5 separate regions of the Homo sapiens genome follow, and regions 1, 2, 4 and 5 are each linked to region 3. Evidence: promoter capture Hi-C in 16 types of primary human blood cells and fetal thymus (Javierre and others, 2016). All regions are on one chromosome and are shown on one strand. Each heading gives the region's core, a stretch centred on a gene start or on the middle of the fragment in contact. The rest is flanking DNA. Distances are from core to core; before and after follow the strand shown. Region 1 overlaps SAMM50 (SAMM50 sorting and assembly machinery component). Region 2 has its middle 17 kb from the start of PARVB. Region 3 holds the start of RTL6 (retrotransposon Gag like 6). Region 4 overlaps PARVB (parvin beta). Region 5 holds the start of PARVG (parvin gamma).

Region 1 (2,700 bases), core at 190-2,689, 510 kb before region 3:
GGTCATCTACATTTGTGGATAAAGTTATTGTCATGAGACTCATTTCTTCAAAGCATTTCACAGATACGATGAATGACAGAGTGCATTCCTTCCTCAACGACATTGGCTTTGTTTGCCTCCTCAGTTAAATCAAGGTGTGAAACAAACCAGGAGAAAAAGAAAGATTATTTAAAATGAGGCCATCAGTATCAGGAATGAGAAGAACAGCTGCTTGCAAACTCCAGCACTGTGTGGCGTTGTTTACAGGACAGAAATCTTGCTTCTGTAAGTTGTGGAAAGTTAACGTGATGTTAACCTTGTCGGACCTTGTTTTTGTTCTGCACCCCTCCTTTGCTTAGGAGACTACCTAGGTGGAGAAGCGTACTGGGCCGGCGGCCTGCACCTCTACACCCCATTACCTTTCCGGCCAGGCCAGGGTGGCTTTGGAGAACTTTTCCGAACACACTTCTTTCTCAACGCAGGAAACCTCTGCAACCTCAACTATGGTAAAACTTGCGCTATTCAAGAAACCATTGTAGTACAGTTGTTTTCATGTTTAAAAGCACAGTACACAAAGAGGTGTCTGTCTTTTTTTTTTTTTTTTGAGATGGAGTCTCGCTCTATTGCCAGGCTGGAGTGCAGTGGCGCAATCTCGGCTCACTGCAACCTCCACCTTCTGGGTTCAAGTGACTCTCTTGCCTCAGCCTCCCGAGTAGCTGGGACTACAGGCGCGTGCCATCACGCCCGGCTAATTTTTTGTATTTTTAGTAGAGACGAGATTTCACCATGTTGGCCAGGATGGTCTCGATCTCTTGACCTCGTGATCCACACCCCCCTTGGATTCCCAAAGTGCTGGGATTACAGGTGTGAGCCACCGTGCCAGGCCATGTCTGTCTTTTTAGATTACATAGTCATTAAAGTTAGAGACTGTGCCTTACTTGAAAAAAATTCTTACAACAGCTAACATAATGCCCAGCATTAAGTGGTTGGTTGAGCGAATGAAGCATACAAGAAAAATAATCATCTAATGCCCTTACGAAGAAAAATCTGTTTGTCTATTTAATAAACAAGTCATGATGGCCACAGAGCTGAGTAGGATTGGGTGCCTTCCTCAGGGAGTTCAGGTCCAGAAGAGACTCCCAGCAGATGCCTGGGTGCTAGGGGTGCCTGGAAAGCTTCCTAGAAGGCATGGAAGTCTCCAAGCTGAGACTCAGAGTGGGGCTTCCCAGGTGGTCAGGGGATGGGGAAAAGTCATTCTAAGCAGAGGGAACAGAATATGCCAGGCCCAAAGAATTGAGAAGGCGTGGCTCATTCTGGATGTGAGTAAGTGTGGCTCCAAGTCCTCTCTTGACCTGGGTCCTAATCTCACTTCATGCATCCTCCCTAATCTCTAGGCCTGGCTTTAAAAACAACTGCAGGGCCCAGCCAGGGGGAGCCAGGGCTTGTCTGGGAGAGCTGGGAGAGCTTGGAAGGACGGGCACGCACTGTTGCTCACAGGTCTTTCTCTTTTCAGGGGAGGGCCCCAAAGCTCATATTCGTAAGCTGGCTGAGTGCATCCGCTGGTCGTACGGGGCCGGGATTGTCCTCAGGCTTGGCAACATCGCTCGGTTGGAACTTAATTACTGCGTCCCCATGGGAGTACAGACAGGCGACAGGTACGTGTTGGGAATTATTTTCCACAATCACATCCCACTCTCCAGTAATTTTATTTTGTTTTGGACGTGGTTAATTTCATTAGTGGCTTTTAAGCTTGAAGATTTTAAGAGAATTAAATAGTTGCAAAATAATGAAAACACATGTATTTTCCTCCTTTGCGTTTTTCTCCATCTAGCTGGGAGGAGCAGGTGTGAAGCGTTCCCACCCCCTCCCTCAGGTGCTTTGTGCTTATTGTTCCCAGGGTAGTGGGAGCCCCTGCCAGGGTCTGGCTGGAGGAATTGACAGGTGATTTGGTTCCTGTGTGCTGAAAACAGAAGGCAGTGTTTTGAGCAGTTGACTTTGCAGGCCAGGGTCTCTAGGAAAGTTGGGGTGAGTGAAGCTTTGTTCCTGACCACAGAGGACACGATCTTGAGAACCCCTCTCTCTACAGCAGAGGAACCCACCTTCTTGGCTTTTCTTCACCCCTTATTTTATTGAGGAAAGATTCCCTAAATGTTACATGGGTGAATATGGTATAGGGCTAGTTACACAGTTATATAAACAAATTCTATTTCTTACATGCATTGTGTAAAATTTTTTTTTTTTTTGAGACAGACTCTCATTCTGTCGCCCAGGCTGGTGTGCAATAGCACGATCTTGGCTCACTGCAACCTCTGCCTCCCAGGTTCAAGAGATTCTCCTGCCTCAGCCTCCTGAGTAGTTGGGATTACAGGCATGCGTCACCACACCCGGCTAATTTTTTGTATATTTAGTAGAGACAGGGTTTCACCATGTTGGTCAGGGTGGTGTCAAACTCCTGACCTCGTGATCTGCCTGCCTCAGCCTCCCAAAGTGCTGGGATTATAGGCATGAGCCACCACGCCCGGCATTTTTTTTTTTTTTTTTTTTTGAGACTCGGTCTTTCTCTGTCACCCAGCTGGAGTACAATGGCCTGACCATGGCTCACTGCAGCCTTGACCTCCTGGGCTCAAGTGATCCCCCTGCCTCAGCCTCCCAAGTAGCTGGGACTACACACCAGGCTAATTTTTGTATTTTTTGTAGAGACAGGGTTTTACCACATTGCCC
Region 2 (2,700 bases), core at 136-2,635, 490 kb before region 3:
GGGTACCTAAGGCTGATTTGCACTGATTTCCTAGAGCTGAATCAAAAGGAAAACCCCACCTCTCCACACCCAAGTAACGAAAGGATCAGAGGCTACTCAACCCTCCCACCTTTCCACTGCATGGCAGATGAAAAATGGGAAGTTCCTCTGATTGGTCCCCTCCCACAACCAATCAGACTGGTCGCAGGCCACTTCTTCATTTACATCGGTTGTAATCAAGTAACAACCTAGAGGGTATTTAAACCCCAGACAATTCTGTAACCAGGGCTCTCAGCCACTGCTAGAGCCTGCTCCCACTTTGAGGAGTGTACTTCTGTTTCAATATATCTGTGCTTCCGTTGCTTCATTCTATTGTTTCTTTGTTTGTGCGTTTTGCCCAATTCTTTGTTCAAAACGCCAAGACTCATAATCAAGACCCTCCACTGGTAACAGCGCTATCATAGCTCACTGCAGTCTCAACTCCCTGGCTCAAGGGATCCTCCCACCTCAGTCTCTGGAATAGCTGGGACCACAGGCGCATGCCACCATGCCCAGCTATTTTAAAAGTATTTTTTATAGAGGCAGGGTCTTGCTATGTTTCCCAGGATGGTCTTGAACTTCTGGGCTCAAGTGATGCTCCTGCCTCAGCCTCAGCCTCCCAACCCTCTGGGATTACAGGCACAAGGCACCACACCAGGCCCATGGAATGCTTTCAATAGTGTATATCCTAGCATCTTACGCCACTCCAAGTGTAGTGCAGGAATCTGACGATACATTAGAAATGCAGAGTCCTGGCCAGATGCCGTGTCTCATGCCTGTAATCCCAGCACTTTGGGAGGCCAAGGTGGGCAGATCACGGGGTCAGGAGATTGAGACCATCCTAACCAAAATAGTGAAACGCTGTCTCTAACTAAAATACAGAAAATCAGTCGGGCGTGGTGGCATGCGCCTGTAGTCCCAGCTACTTGGGAGGCTGAGGCAGGGGAATCACTTGAGCCCAGAAGGCAGAGGTTGCAGTGAGCCGAGATCGTGCCACTGCACTACAGCCTGGTGACAGAGCGAGACTACATCTCGGAAAAGAAAAAAAGAAAAAGAAATGCAGAGTTCCAGGCCCTGCCCAGCCCACCCTGTGGTTTTGCAAGATTCCCAGGTGGCCTGTGTGTGCAGTCAGGATTGAGGAGCACCCTCTAGGTTTGAACTCAGCACACTTCCATACCTTCAGCCCTCTCCTCTCATAGGTAACTCAGCTCCCACCTGCCACGTGGCAGGATCTCCTGGACAGGCAGCCAGAAAGCTAGTAACAGCAAAGCTTTGTTACCTAACATTTCCTTCTATTTGTGTGCAGTACCTCCCCCTGTCATGCCCCGTGTGAGGGCAAATCACCTTCATCGCTGAATCTTTCACCTGGGCAAGTGCAGGAGGGGAGCCCCAGATCAGCTGCTCCCATCCATGTGAGTTCTGCTGCGCGGATGCAAAAGGCACAAAGATCCCAGGGACCCATAGGAAGCTTCACAATGGTTACCATCCACCTACTGTCAGTGGCCACTACCTTCCGTTCATTCAACCGTTTGGGGGACAGCGATCAAGCTCTTAGTGTGTGCGAGGCTGCGTTTGCGGGTACAGCGGGCGGAGATGACACTTCAGGTCTAGTGGGGAAGAACAGGTCAGCAGGGGGTACCCAGGAAAGATGGGGAGGGGGTGCCCAGCTCCGCCTATGGGAGGAAGGTGGGCTGGGGGGAGTGGAGTCTCCTCCGAGAAGCCCATCCTTTCCCGTGCTGCTTTGCAGTTTAGCATGGGGCCTGCATCAGGCTCTGCACTCCCACGCTGGAGGCCAGAGATTCATGTGAATTTCCAGTCGTGGGTCATGGCCAGAGCATCCTTTATTCTCTTTCCCAAGGTCGGGCTCTCTGTTCACCCTCTTCTGCCTCTGGGAGCCTCTGGACTCATTTCTTCCCTCCTGCGCTCCTCAGCGGGAAGTCTCCATCTCCTTCCTTCCTGTAGATTCCTCTTCTCCACGAGAAAGTTTTAGAGGCTTTTCCAATCCCCCAAGGCAAGACTTTGAATTACCTTTAGTTTTAGGCCCTGATTTATGTGGGTTTGACAACAGGCTTTAAAAAAGTTTTTTTTTGGTAAAATGCACATAAAATGTACCATTTGAGGTCTACAGTTCCGTGGCTTAAATCCATTTACACTGTTGAGCAACCATCACCACCACCCATCTCCAGAACTCTTTCATTCCGAAGCTGAACCTGCACCCATTAGGCACTCACTCCCAATTCGGTCCTTCCCAGCCCCTGCAGCCACTGTTCTACTTCCTGTCGCTATTAATTTGACTCCTCTAGGTGCCTCATCTAAGCAGGATCATACAGTATGTGTCCTTTTGTGACTGGCATATCACACTAGCATCATGTCCTCAAAGTTCATCTGCGTTGTAGGCTGAGTCAGAATTTCATGTATATACGCATGCATACACCACATTTTCTTTATCCCTTCATGTGTCAGTGGACGTTTGGGTTGTTTCTACCTTTAGAGACAGGTTTTTTTTGTTGTTGTTGTTGTTTTGTTTTTGAGACAGAGTCTTGCTCTGTCACCCAGGCTGGAGCACAGTTGCATGATCTCGGCTCACTGCAACCTCCGCCTCCCAGGTTCAAGCAATTCTCCTGCCTTAGCACCCCCGCCCGCCTCCGAGTAGCTGGGATTACAGGCGCGCATCACCACGCC
Region 3 (2,700 bases), core at 76-2,575:
AAGGCCCCGTGCCCGCAGAGGCCAGCTGGCGGCAGAGCATCTGCCTCTCTCGCACAGCCCTATTAGAGGCAGAAGTCTTCCTGATTTGGGCGCGCCGCGCATGCCGGAGCGGAGACTTGTAGGTTCTCCGCAACTCTGCCAGGAACCCCTGATAGTTGTTGCGCAAGGGGCTGTCAGGTTGCATGTGGGGGATAGCCCACTTCTCCGCCTCCCCAGTCAGTCGAGACACAAGGAAGGCCACACGCTCGGCCTCACCCGGGAAGCGGGAGGCCTGGAAGATCATGAATCTGTCCATCTGCATCAGGAACCCCGCCAACCGGCCTGGGTCCCCGGAAAAGGGCTCGGGCAGAGAGGTTGGAGGTGTGGTCATGGGTCGAGTCCCGTTTGAAGTAATTGAGGAGATGGGCGGGGTGATCTGCAGAGCCCCCGGGATCCGCGCCCTGGTGCGTAACAAGGTCAGCTCTGCCATCACGCTCTCCAGCATGTTGGTGAGATTGGCCTTCTCCGCCCGCAGGGTGGAAGCCTCCCGCCTCAGCGCCGAGTTGGTGAGGCGCAGGGAGGTCAGGGTGTCAATAACGTCATCCATCTGGGCATTCGGAGACGCTGCCAAGGCTGGGCTTTCAGCTTTGGACGTCTGCGGCTGCACCATGCTGGCCAGAGGTCAGCCACACGCTGAGATCCGCGGGTGGACCAAGAGGGTGTGGTGACCAGGTGGGCCCCTGTAGAAATGGGGGCAGTGTGGGGTGCACGACGGCAGGGCGCTGCGAGACCCCCAAGCCGAGGGCCCGAGAGAGGGGCACGCGGTGCCAGGCCCTAGGGACTTCGGCCCCGGTCCCACGCGGCTCCTTTACTGCAGACTTCGCGGACTACGGAGCCAGACGGGTGGCTGGACCTGCTCTGGGCCCTGGAGGATTAAGAAAAGATGTTTTCAAGGTTTCAGTTGCGACTAGCGGGCAGGAGGGTGAGGGGCGGCGTGGAGGGCCCGCGCGTGGGTGGCGAGGCTGCACAAAGCCCCGCGGCGCCCGCCCCGCGCCCGCCCGGGGGAGAACAAAGGGGGCTGCTCCTTGGCGGCCGCGGGCCTGGGGGCCACCACAGTGGCGGGGCCCGGCCGGGCAGGGGGCCGGGGGCACGCGTACCTGGGGTCTCGCGGTTCCTCCGCGGCTCTGTCCGCCGCCGGCCGTGACCAAGATGGCCCGCGCGGGGGACGCGGCCAGGCCGATGAATCACCGCGCGGACCGCCGAGAACTGCTTCCCGGTCAGCGCAGCCAAGCGACGGCGCTGGCGATGGCGGCGGGCGGCCTCCGGCAGGTGCAGGGACCGGGCCAGGCCGGGGCCGGGGCAGGGGCGGGGCCGGGGTCGCGGCAGAGGGCGGGTCACCGCGCGGCCTTTGTGCGGGCGGGGCCGGCGCGGTGGCGGTGGCGGGCGGGCCTTAGGCTGGCCCCGCTGGTTGCCATGGATACCGACCGCTCCCGCGCGTGCGGAGACGACCGCTGCCCCGCCCCCGGAAGTGATGCACAAAGTCCCACCCCCCCCCACCCCCCAACTCGGGCTGCTGCCAATCGGGGAAGACTGTAGTTGCTGCGGCGTCTTCATCAGGGCGGGTACCTGGTGTTCTCCCAGTCATTCCTCCCAAGAGGGCTTGCAAGGCTCTTTCTGTGGTTGTCATTGGGTTTATTTTTTTGATGATTTACTGTTCTTCTTATTTTTTTTTTTTTTTGAGACGGAGTCTCGCTCTGTCGCCTAGGCTGGAGTGCAGTGGCGCGATCCTGAGTCACTGCAACCTCCGCCTCCCGGGTTCAAGCGATTCTTCTGCCTCAGCCACCCAAGTAACTGGGATTACAGGCGCGTGCTACCATGCCCGGCTAATTTTTGTATTTTTAGTAGAGACGGGGTTTCACCTTGTTGGCCTGGCCAGTCTCCAACTCCTGACCTCAGGGCATCCGCCTGCCTTGGCCTCCCAAAGTTCTGGGATTACAGGCGTGAGCCACTGCATCAGGCCCTTATTGTGATTTGAATATAAATTTAATGTAACAAATCTTGATGTAAGAGAAGTAAAAAAAACTTTATACTACTCAGACTCCCTCCACCTAAAGATAGCAAATAGTAATACATATATATGTAACGTAGAGATAGTAATATTTCTGTACTTCCATCCAGTCATTTTTCTATGATATGTTCTACAAAATATTTTTTACCTTATGAATATTTTGTAACCATAACAGCACATTGAATTTTGAGCATTTTCCTATTAAAGATAGTTCAGAAGCATGATTTTCAGTTATTGCCTGTGGTCCATGGAACTCCTGTACCGCAAAGTATTTAGCCATGCCCTTTTTGATAGATCCTTATCTTGTTTACCATGCTAAAGTTTTATAAACTACACTTGTATATAAATCCCCACCCTTTTCTCTGCTGGGTTCCCCAGAGTAAATACCAAGGAGTGAAGATACCTGGCTGATATGGTTTGGCTGTGTCTCCACCCAAATCTCATCTTGAGTCGTAACTCCCACAATTCCCACATCGTGGGAGGAACCTGGTGGAAGGTGATCGAATTATGTGGGCAGGTCTTTTCTGCACTCTTCTTGTGATAGTGAGTGAGTCTCAAGAGATCTGATGGTTTTAAAAAGGGAAGTTTCCGGCCGGGCACAATGGCTCACGTCTGTACTCCCAGCACTTTGGGAGGCCAAGGCGGGTGGATCA
Region 4 (2,700 bases), core at 12-2,511, 420 kb before region 3:
GGGCTGTTCCTCCAAAGGTGCAGTCTCCAGCAGGGGTGTGGGGACCCCTGTGGGCCGTGAAGGCCTTTCTCCTTTTCTGCTGTGGGCATTGCATCTGTTCCTGATGGGTAGAGTTGTCTGTGCCCGGTGGGGCCCAAGGCAGTGCCATGGTGGTTCTTTGAGTATCTCAGGTGGGAACTGAGCTGCCAGCACCAGAGGCCAATGGCTTCCAGCACTCCCCAAATCCACCTGCTTTTGGAAGGGGCCTGTCTCCGAAGCAGGCCGGGTCCTCCTGTTGGGGGAAGCTTTCATGGAGGCATCTGTGTCACTTCTGCAGGGGAGACAGCCGCTAGAGGGCACTGTCCTTCTGGCCTTTCCCACATCCCCGTTTCCATGGCAGGTGCATAGTAAAGCCTTTCTTTTTCTAACGACTTAATGATTTAATCTTCTTATTTTCTCAGCAGACAACGCTTTGGACTTCCCTGGATACATTGGGACGTTACCAGTCACATTAATTAATACGAGTTTCACAACTTGGGAACCAGCGAACGTGCTTCTCCAGACTTAGCTTCTGCACGGCCGTTTCTGCTTTCCTTTATGAAGTGCGTTTCTCTAAGAGCCTGGCAGTCTCATGGGGCTCGTCTGTTGCTGGAAGTGAGCAGCGGGTTCCATTGCCCCCCGCCTCGGTGGGGCTCATTGTGCAGCTTGCTGGCAAGTGGCTGGGCTCGGAGGGGCGGTGACGGTGACACACGCCAGGGGAAAGGTTGGCATCCTCTTCTGAGAATTGTTTCTTTTGGGTTTCACACCCTGCCCCCACCTTCTGCTGCCTCGAGGCTCTTTTCTTCTTATTATTAGCTAATGACAGATTTCATGACCAGTGACTGAAATCATTTGGAAGTACCCCCTGAAAGCCAGCGTGATGGGTTGGAGAAATGTGACAGACGCAGCCTCTGAAAATCACAGAGGCAGAGGCTTGCGTCGAAGGACTTGCTAAGGAATTAGGATGAGAGTGGTCAGGAGGCAGTGGCTGCTGGGCACTGGAGCTGAGGGTGAGGGGCCGAGAAAACGGGAGGCAAATGGGGTAGCTCTTTTTTGGGGCGGGGGAGGCTGGCTTTGGGGATGTGTATCCCACTGTGCACCGCAAGGTGGGGGCACTGGGCGGTAGGTTCCCGTGCTCCGGAAGGGTGGCAATTGAAGGGAGGAATTAAAGAAGTTGGCCAGGTGCGGTGGTTCGTGCCTGTAATCCCAGCACTTTGGGAGGCCGAGGCAGGTGGATCACTTGAAATCAGGAGTTCGAGATCCACCTGGCCAACATAGTGAAACCTCATCTGTACTAAAAATACAAAAATTAGCTGGGTGTGGTGGTGCACACTTGTAATCCCAGCTACTCAGGAGGCTGAGGCAGGAGAATCGCTTGAATCTGGGAGGTGGAGGTTGCAGTGAGCCAAGATCGAGCCACTGCACTCCAGCCTGGGCGACAGAGCAAGAGTCCGTCTCAAAAACAAAAACAAAAACAAAAAACAAAAAACAAAAACTGACTCATGTGGCTTTCAGTCTGAGAAACCAATCAGATCATCATTGTCTCTAAAGAATGTGTCCTCCTTTGTAGACAAGAAGCTCACCGGCCCCTCCATGCCCCGGTTTCTCGCCCAGGTGGGTTAGACGGCCAACCTGACATTTTACCGTGCACCTGGAAGTCTTTCTTCCTGTTCTCCTTCCCACAAAGGATTCATTTTTCTGTGGTTCTAACATTTTCCTGATCACCCCAGGGACAAAGGGGAAGAAAAGACCGTGTTTCTGGGCCAAGGGAATCATCTGTTTAACATGGGCTTCGGAGCTTTTTTTACATTTCTATGTAAGCAACTTTTCGTATTCAGAAGACCCAGTTTCCCTGAGCCAGATGGACTCCTTCCATCTCGGGGTGGTCTGTATTTCAGATTCCTGCAGCAGGTGGCTGGTCGGAATGCACACCCCAGGAGGTGAGGCTGGGGGGATGTTGGCTCCTGGGCTGCTTGTACTAGCAAGTCCCTAATTGCGGAGCGGACTCCTTCCTCCTGAGCCCATCAGCCTCTACGTGGCCACATCAGGGTAATTGGGTTCCTTGTGAAACACGACTGCCAGGCTAATGTAAACCTTAATGGAAACCCTCTTTTTCCACCCAATTAAGTGGCTGGAGGTGGGATGCTGTGTGAGAGCCGTCAGTTCAGTTCCCTGACTTTCTCTTGTAGAAATTATCTATGTAGCTCCATTTGGCCTACATAAGCTTAGCATTTGTGTTCATTCATTCATTCATTCCACAGATATTCAGAGAGCAGTTATCCATGTGCTGGGTTTTATGCAGGATGTGAGGCCATGGTCATGAATGGGACCTGGCCCCTGTGCACTCCTTGCGGGGTCGGGGGGTGCAGGGAGATGAGCACAGTCCACAATCACATGATCGGGGAATAGGGTTTGTCATTGTCATGTGCACGGGGAGCTGTGGAAACCCAGAGGAGGGGCCCGAACTGCACCCAGGGATAGAGGATGTGCAGAGTGTGCTTTCCAGACGGTGGGAAATGGGTGGAGCTAGCTGACCTGAAGTGAAGGGCATTGCAGGTTGTGGGGACAGTCGAGCAGAGGGGCAGAGATATGACCTACAGAAGTGGCCTGGAATGGCCTCATCAGACGATGAGTGTGGAAGCATGGTAACTGCAGCTGTATTGATGAGAGGAGGGGTCTGCT
Region 5 (2,700 bases), core at 201-2,700, 320 kb before region 3:
TGTGATGATAACAAGCTCACCCCACAGTCCTTAGATAACCTGTGCTCGTATTGCGTATGGAAGCCACAACTCTGCCAAAGCCACAATTTAATAGGTACTTCGTTCTGAGTGATGACAGGTAATTATTTTGCCATCACAGGCTACGATCTATTAGAACTCCATTCTCTAACAGTTACTAGGTCCCCACTGCCTTTAAATCAACCAGAACAAGTAACCAATCCCAGTTCCCATCCTGGAGGTCGTGTTGCCTGCAATTGTTTCTGGTAACAAATCCGAAGTTAATTGGGATTCAGTTGCCGATGATTAGAGTCTCTTCAGTTGTTTGGAGGAGAAAGGAATCTAACATAGGAAGCTGTGTGATTCTCAAGCTGTTGGAAGGCTGGAGGCAGCGCCTCCAGCAAGGACTCTTGGAAGAATACTGCAGAGCTGGCTCCTGAAGGAAGCTGCCGAGTCAGGCTGGCCCTAGAAGCATGCTTTCTGGGTTGAATGCTTTAGGTTCACCTCTGCAGATCCACTCCCCACCATTTTCTCTCCTCACATCTATGGGCCGCAGCAGGGGACTTCTTTTCTCTGGCTTCTGGCTGGATGTGGGCAGGGGAGGCCCTGGCAGGAGGGAGGAGAGTGAGGCTTGGTCATTGATTCCTCCAGCTGTGCCCTTCTGCTGGTTCACCATGAGCTGGCTGTGTCCCTCTACCAAAGGCCACAGCTCCTATCCCGAGGCCCCTCTTAGAGCTTCAGTGATTCTGTTCCTGGGCTCTGCCACCCACTCCCTCCTTCACCCTCTAGGTTTTGAAGAAGTAACAGCTCCCCATGTTGCTAGCCTGGGGTGTAGCACTGTCTCTTCTGGGTTCCTTTAACCCTGCCCCAGCTGTCCCTTTATTAAACAGTCTTCAGTTAGCACATGGGAATATACCGTCTCTTTGCTGCTGGGACTGTGACTGCTGCTACATCTATGTGGCTGTGATCCAGAGTCAGAAGCCACCACCAGAACCACTGTGTCCAGAGCTGGGCTGAGCCTGCTACACACGCCCCAGCAAAATAGGTCCTGCACGGTGGCTTCTCTCCCCACCTGTTACAAGCCCCAGTCTAGCACGGGCACTTCAGAATGGCAGGGACTGACTCATGTGCCTCAGTGTCTTCCTCTGTAATATGGGGGTGATGATTGTACCTACCTCACAAGGAAGTTTCCAGTAAAATGAAAGCCCTTAAAATTATGTTTGTTTCATCACCAATGACTCCATAAATATTAGCAACAATACCAGTACTAAGTTTTGTCATTTTTTATTAACTTCTTGTAAACGACCCTACTTTCCTGCTCTCACACACTCCTTACACCTGCATCCCACCTGATTTAGCCACTTTCTGCCTAACCTGTCAGAAAGGGTAGATAGCTTCCCAGTCACCTGTTGCTAGGGAAACTCACCATTTCAGCCCGGATGGTGAAGATTCCAGCTTGAGAGACCAGCTCGGGTCTGAAGTGTTTCTCTATCTACTGTGCTGAGATCTCTCCTTCTCGAACCCTGCTATGCCTTTGCATACGCTGTTTTCTCCACCTGCCACGTTCTCACCCCTTCTTCTTCCACTGCAAACTCCTATGCAGCCGTCAAGGCCCCATTCTCCTCTGGAAAGCCTTCCCGATCCCCTTGGCAACAACCACCACCAATATTTATTCACTGAGCCCACTTTGTGCCAAGCATTGTTCTAGACACGGGTATGTAACCGCGATTGAGAGAGACAGACCACGCACAGCCTGGATTTTATTTTAAGAGCTATTGGGTGCCGTTGGTGGGTTTGAGTGAGTGGGGTCAGGAAGTGACTCACTCCTCCGAGGGCTTGTGGGAGCCTCAGCTCAGGGGCGGGCAGGGGGCGTGGGGAAGTCTGCAGCCGAGAGTCCAGGTAGGAGTCTCCTGCGTGGTCCCGGGAGAGGAAGGGGCCTGGCCCGGGGCGGGGTGTGGAGGTGGGAGGACGGCGGTGCGGGATGGAGGGTGGAGGCCAGGCTGACAGGGTGCTGGTGGTGGGTTGCGGGGGTCGACCCCAGGCTCTGGCCTATGTAGCTGCCATTTTGGAGGTGAACAGCCTGCGGGGAAACTGGCATGGTTTGGGGAAGGCGGGGAGAGGGGGAGAAATGAAAGCATTGAGTTTAAGTGGCCTGCAGAACCCCGGGGGCCCAGGCGGCACGGCGGGCGCTGGGGCTCCGGGCAGAGCTTTCTGGAGGTTTGTGGCAGCTTCACTTTCACGGCATCCACCCCCCTCGGGCCCTGCCGCAGAGAGGAGGAAGCTCCTGCCGGCTGAGCGGGCCTGGAGGAAGTGAGCAGCGGGGCTCCTGCCTCCCGGCCTGGTCCCCGAAGACCCCAGAAGAACCCGGAACTTGCTTCCATTCGGAATCCAGGGACCACCCTTTGCACTCAGTAGGCCTTTGTTTTCCTGCGTGGAAAGCGGTTGGGTGAGTTCTGGCATCGGGGCCACCATACTTGAGTGTTGGGGGTCACGGAGGGAGGGGCCCAGACACCACCTGGGAAGGATCCCAGAGTGCAGTCCCAGCCCAGGCCACCCGGGGAAGGGAGTCGGTAAAGTGGGACCTTGAGTCCCCACGGCCCCTCCGGCTGCCCCTGCTCAGAGGCTGCTCGGCGTCCTCCCTCCCTGTTCTACTGAGGAGTTGCCGCCTCTGAACTTCAGCCAACCCCTCCGTCTCCAGGTGAA

The links. The method cuts DNA at HindIII sites, captures the fragments that hold promoters and counts their contacts. A CHiCAGO score of 5 or more calls a contact.
Region 1: a contact is called between a fragment that was not itself captured here and the fragment with the promoter of RTL6 in region 3, in 1 of 17 cell types (total CD8 T cells). The highest score is 5.2, in total CD8 T cells.
Region 2: a contact is called between a fragment that was not itself captured here and the fragment with the promoter of RTL6 in region 3, in 2 of 17 cell types (total CD4 T cells and naive CD8 T cells). The highest score is 5.9, in total CD4 T cells.
Region 4: a contact is called between a fragment that was not itself captured here and the fragment with the promoter of RTL6 in region 3, in 1 of 17 cell types (naive CD8 T cells). The highest score is 5.8, in naive CD8 T cells.
Region 5: the fragment with the promoter of PARVG here is called in contact with the fragment with the promoter of RTL6 in region 3 in 2 of 17 cell types (monocytes and total CD8 T cells); the score reaches 5.8 in monocytes.

The regions. Positions count from the first base shown.
Region 1 is chr22:43,988,773-43,991,472 of GRCh38, forward strand. SAMM50 (SAMM50 sorting and assembly machinery component) reads left to right here. Exons shown (of 15, transcript NM_015380.5): 13 at 339-485; 14 at 1,493-1,634. Among named protein-coding and RNA genes, the nearest start is that of PARVB, 34 kb to the right of the region's middle. The HindIII fragment of the contact is 574 bases long and covers 1,153-1,726 here.
Region 2 is chr22:44,005,572-44,008,271 of GRCh38, forward strand. It overlaps a transcript of PARVB not described here. Among named protein-coding and RNA genes, the nearest start is that of PARVB, 17 kb to the right of the region's middle. The HindIII fragment of the contact is 198 bases long and covers 1,287-1,484 here.
Region 3 is chr22:44,496,908-44,499,607 of GRCh38, forward strand. RTL6 (retrotransposon Gag like 6) reads right to left here and starts at 1,326. Exons shown (of 2, transcript NM_032287.3): 1 at 1,137-1,326; 2 at 1-904. The coding sequence starts at 649. RefSeq lists silencers at 1,257-1,386, 1,477-1,536. The HindIII fragment of the contact is 14,128 bases long and covers 1-2,700 here.
Region 4 is chr22:44,081,043-44,083,742 of GRCh38, forward strand. The region is part of intron 1 of PARVB (parvin beta); the gene reads left to right. Among named protein-coding and RNA genes, the nearest start is that of PARVB, 58 kb to the left of the region's middle. The HindIII fragment of the contact is 1,958 bases long and covers 283-2,240 here.
Region 5 is chr22:44,179,475-44,182,174 of GRCh38, forward strand. It overlaps PARVG (parvin gamma), which reads left to right and starts at 1,451. Exons shown (of 14, transcript NM_022141.7): 1 at 1,451-1,711; 2 at 2,268-2,443. RefSeq lists silencers at 712-761, 1,932-2,061 and enhancers at 1,438-2,168, 2,169-2,700. The HindIII fragment of the contact is 15,489 bases long and covers 1-2,700 here.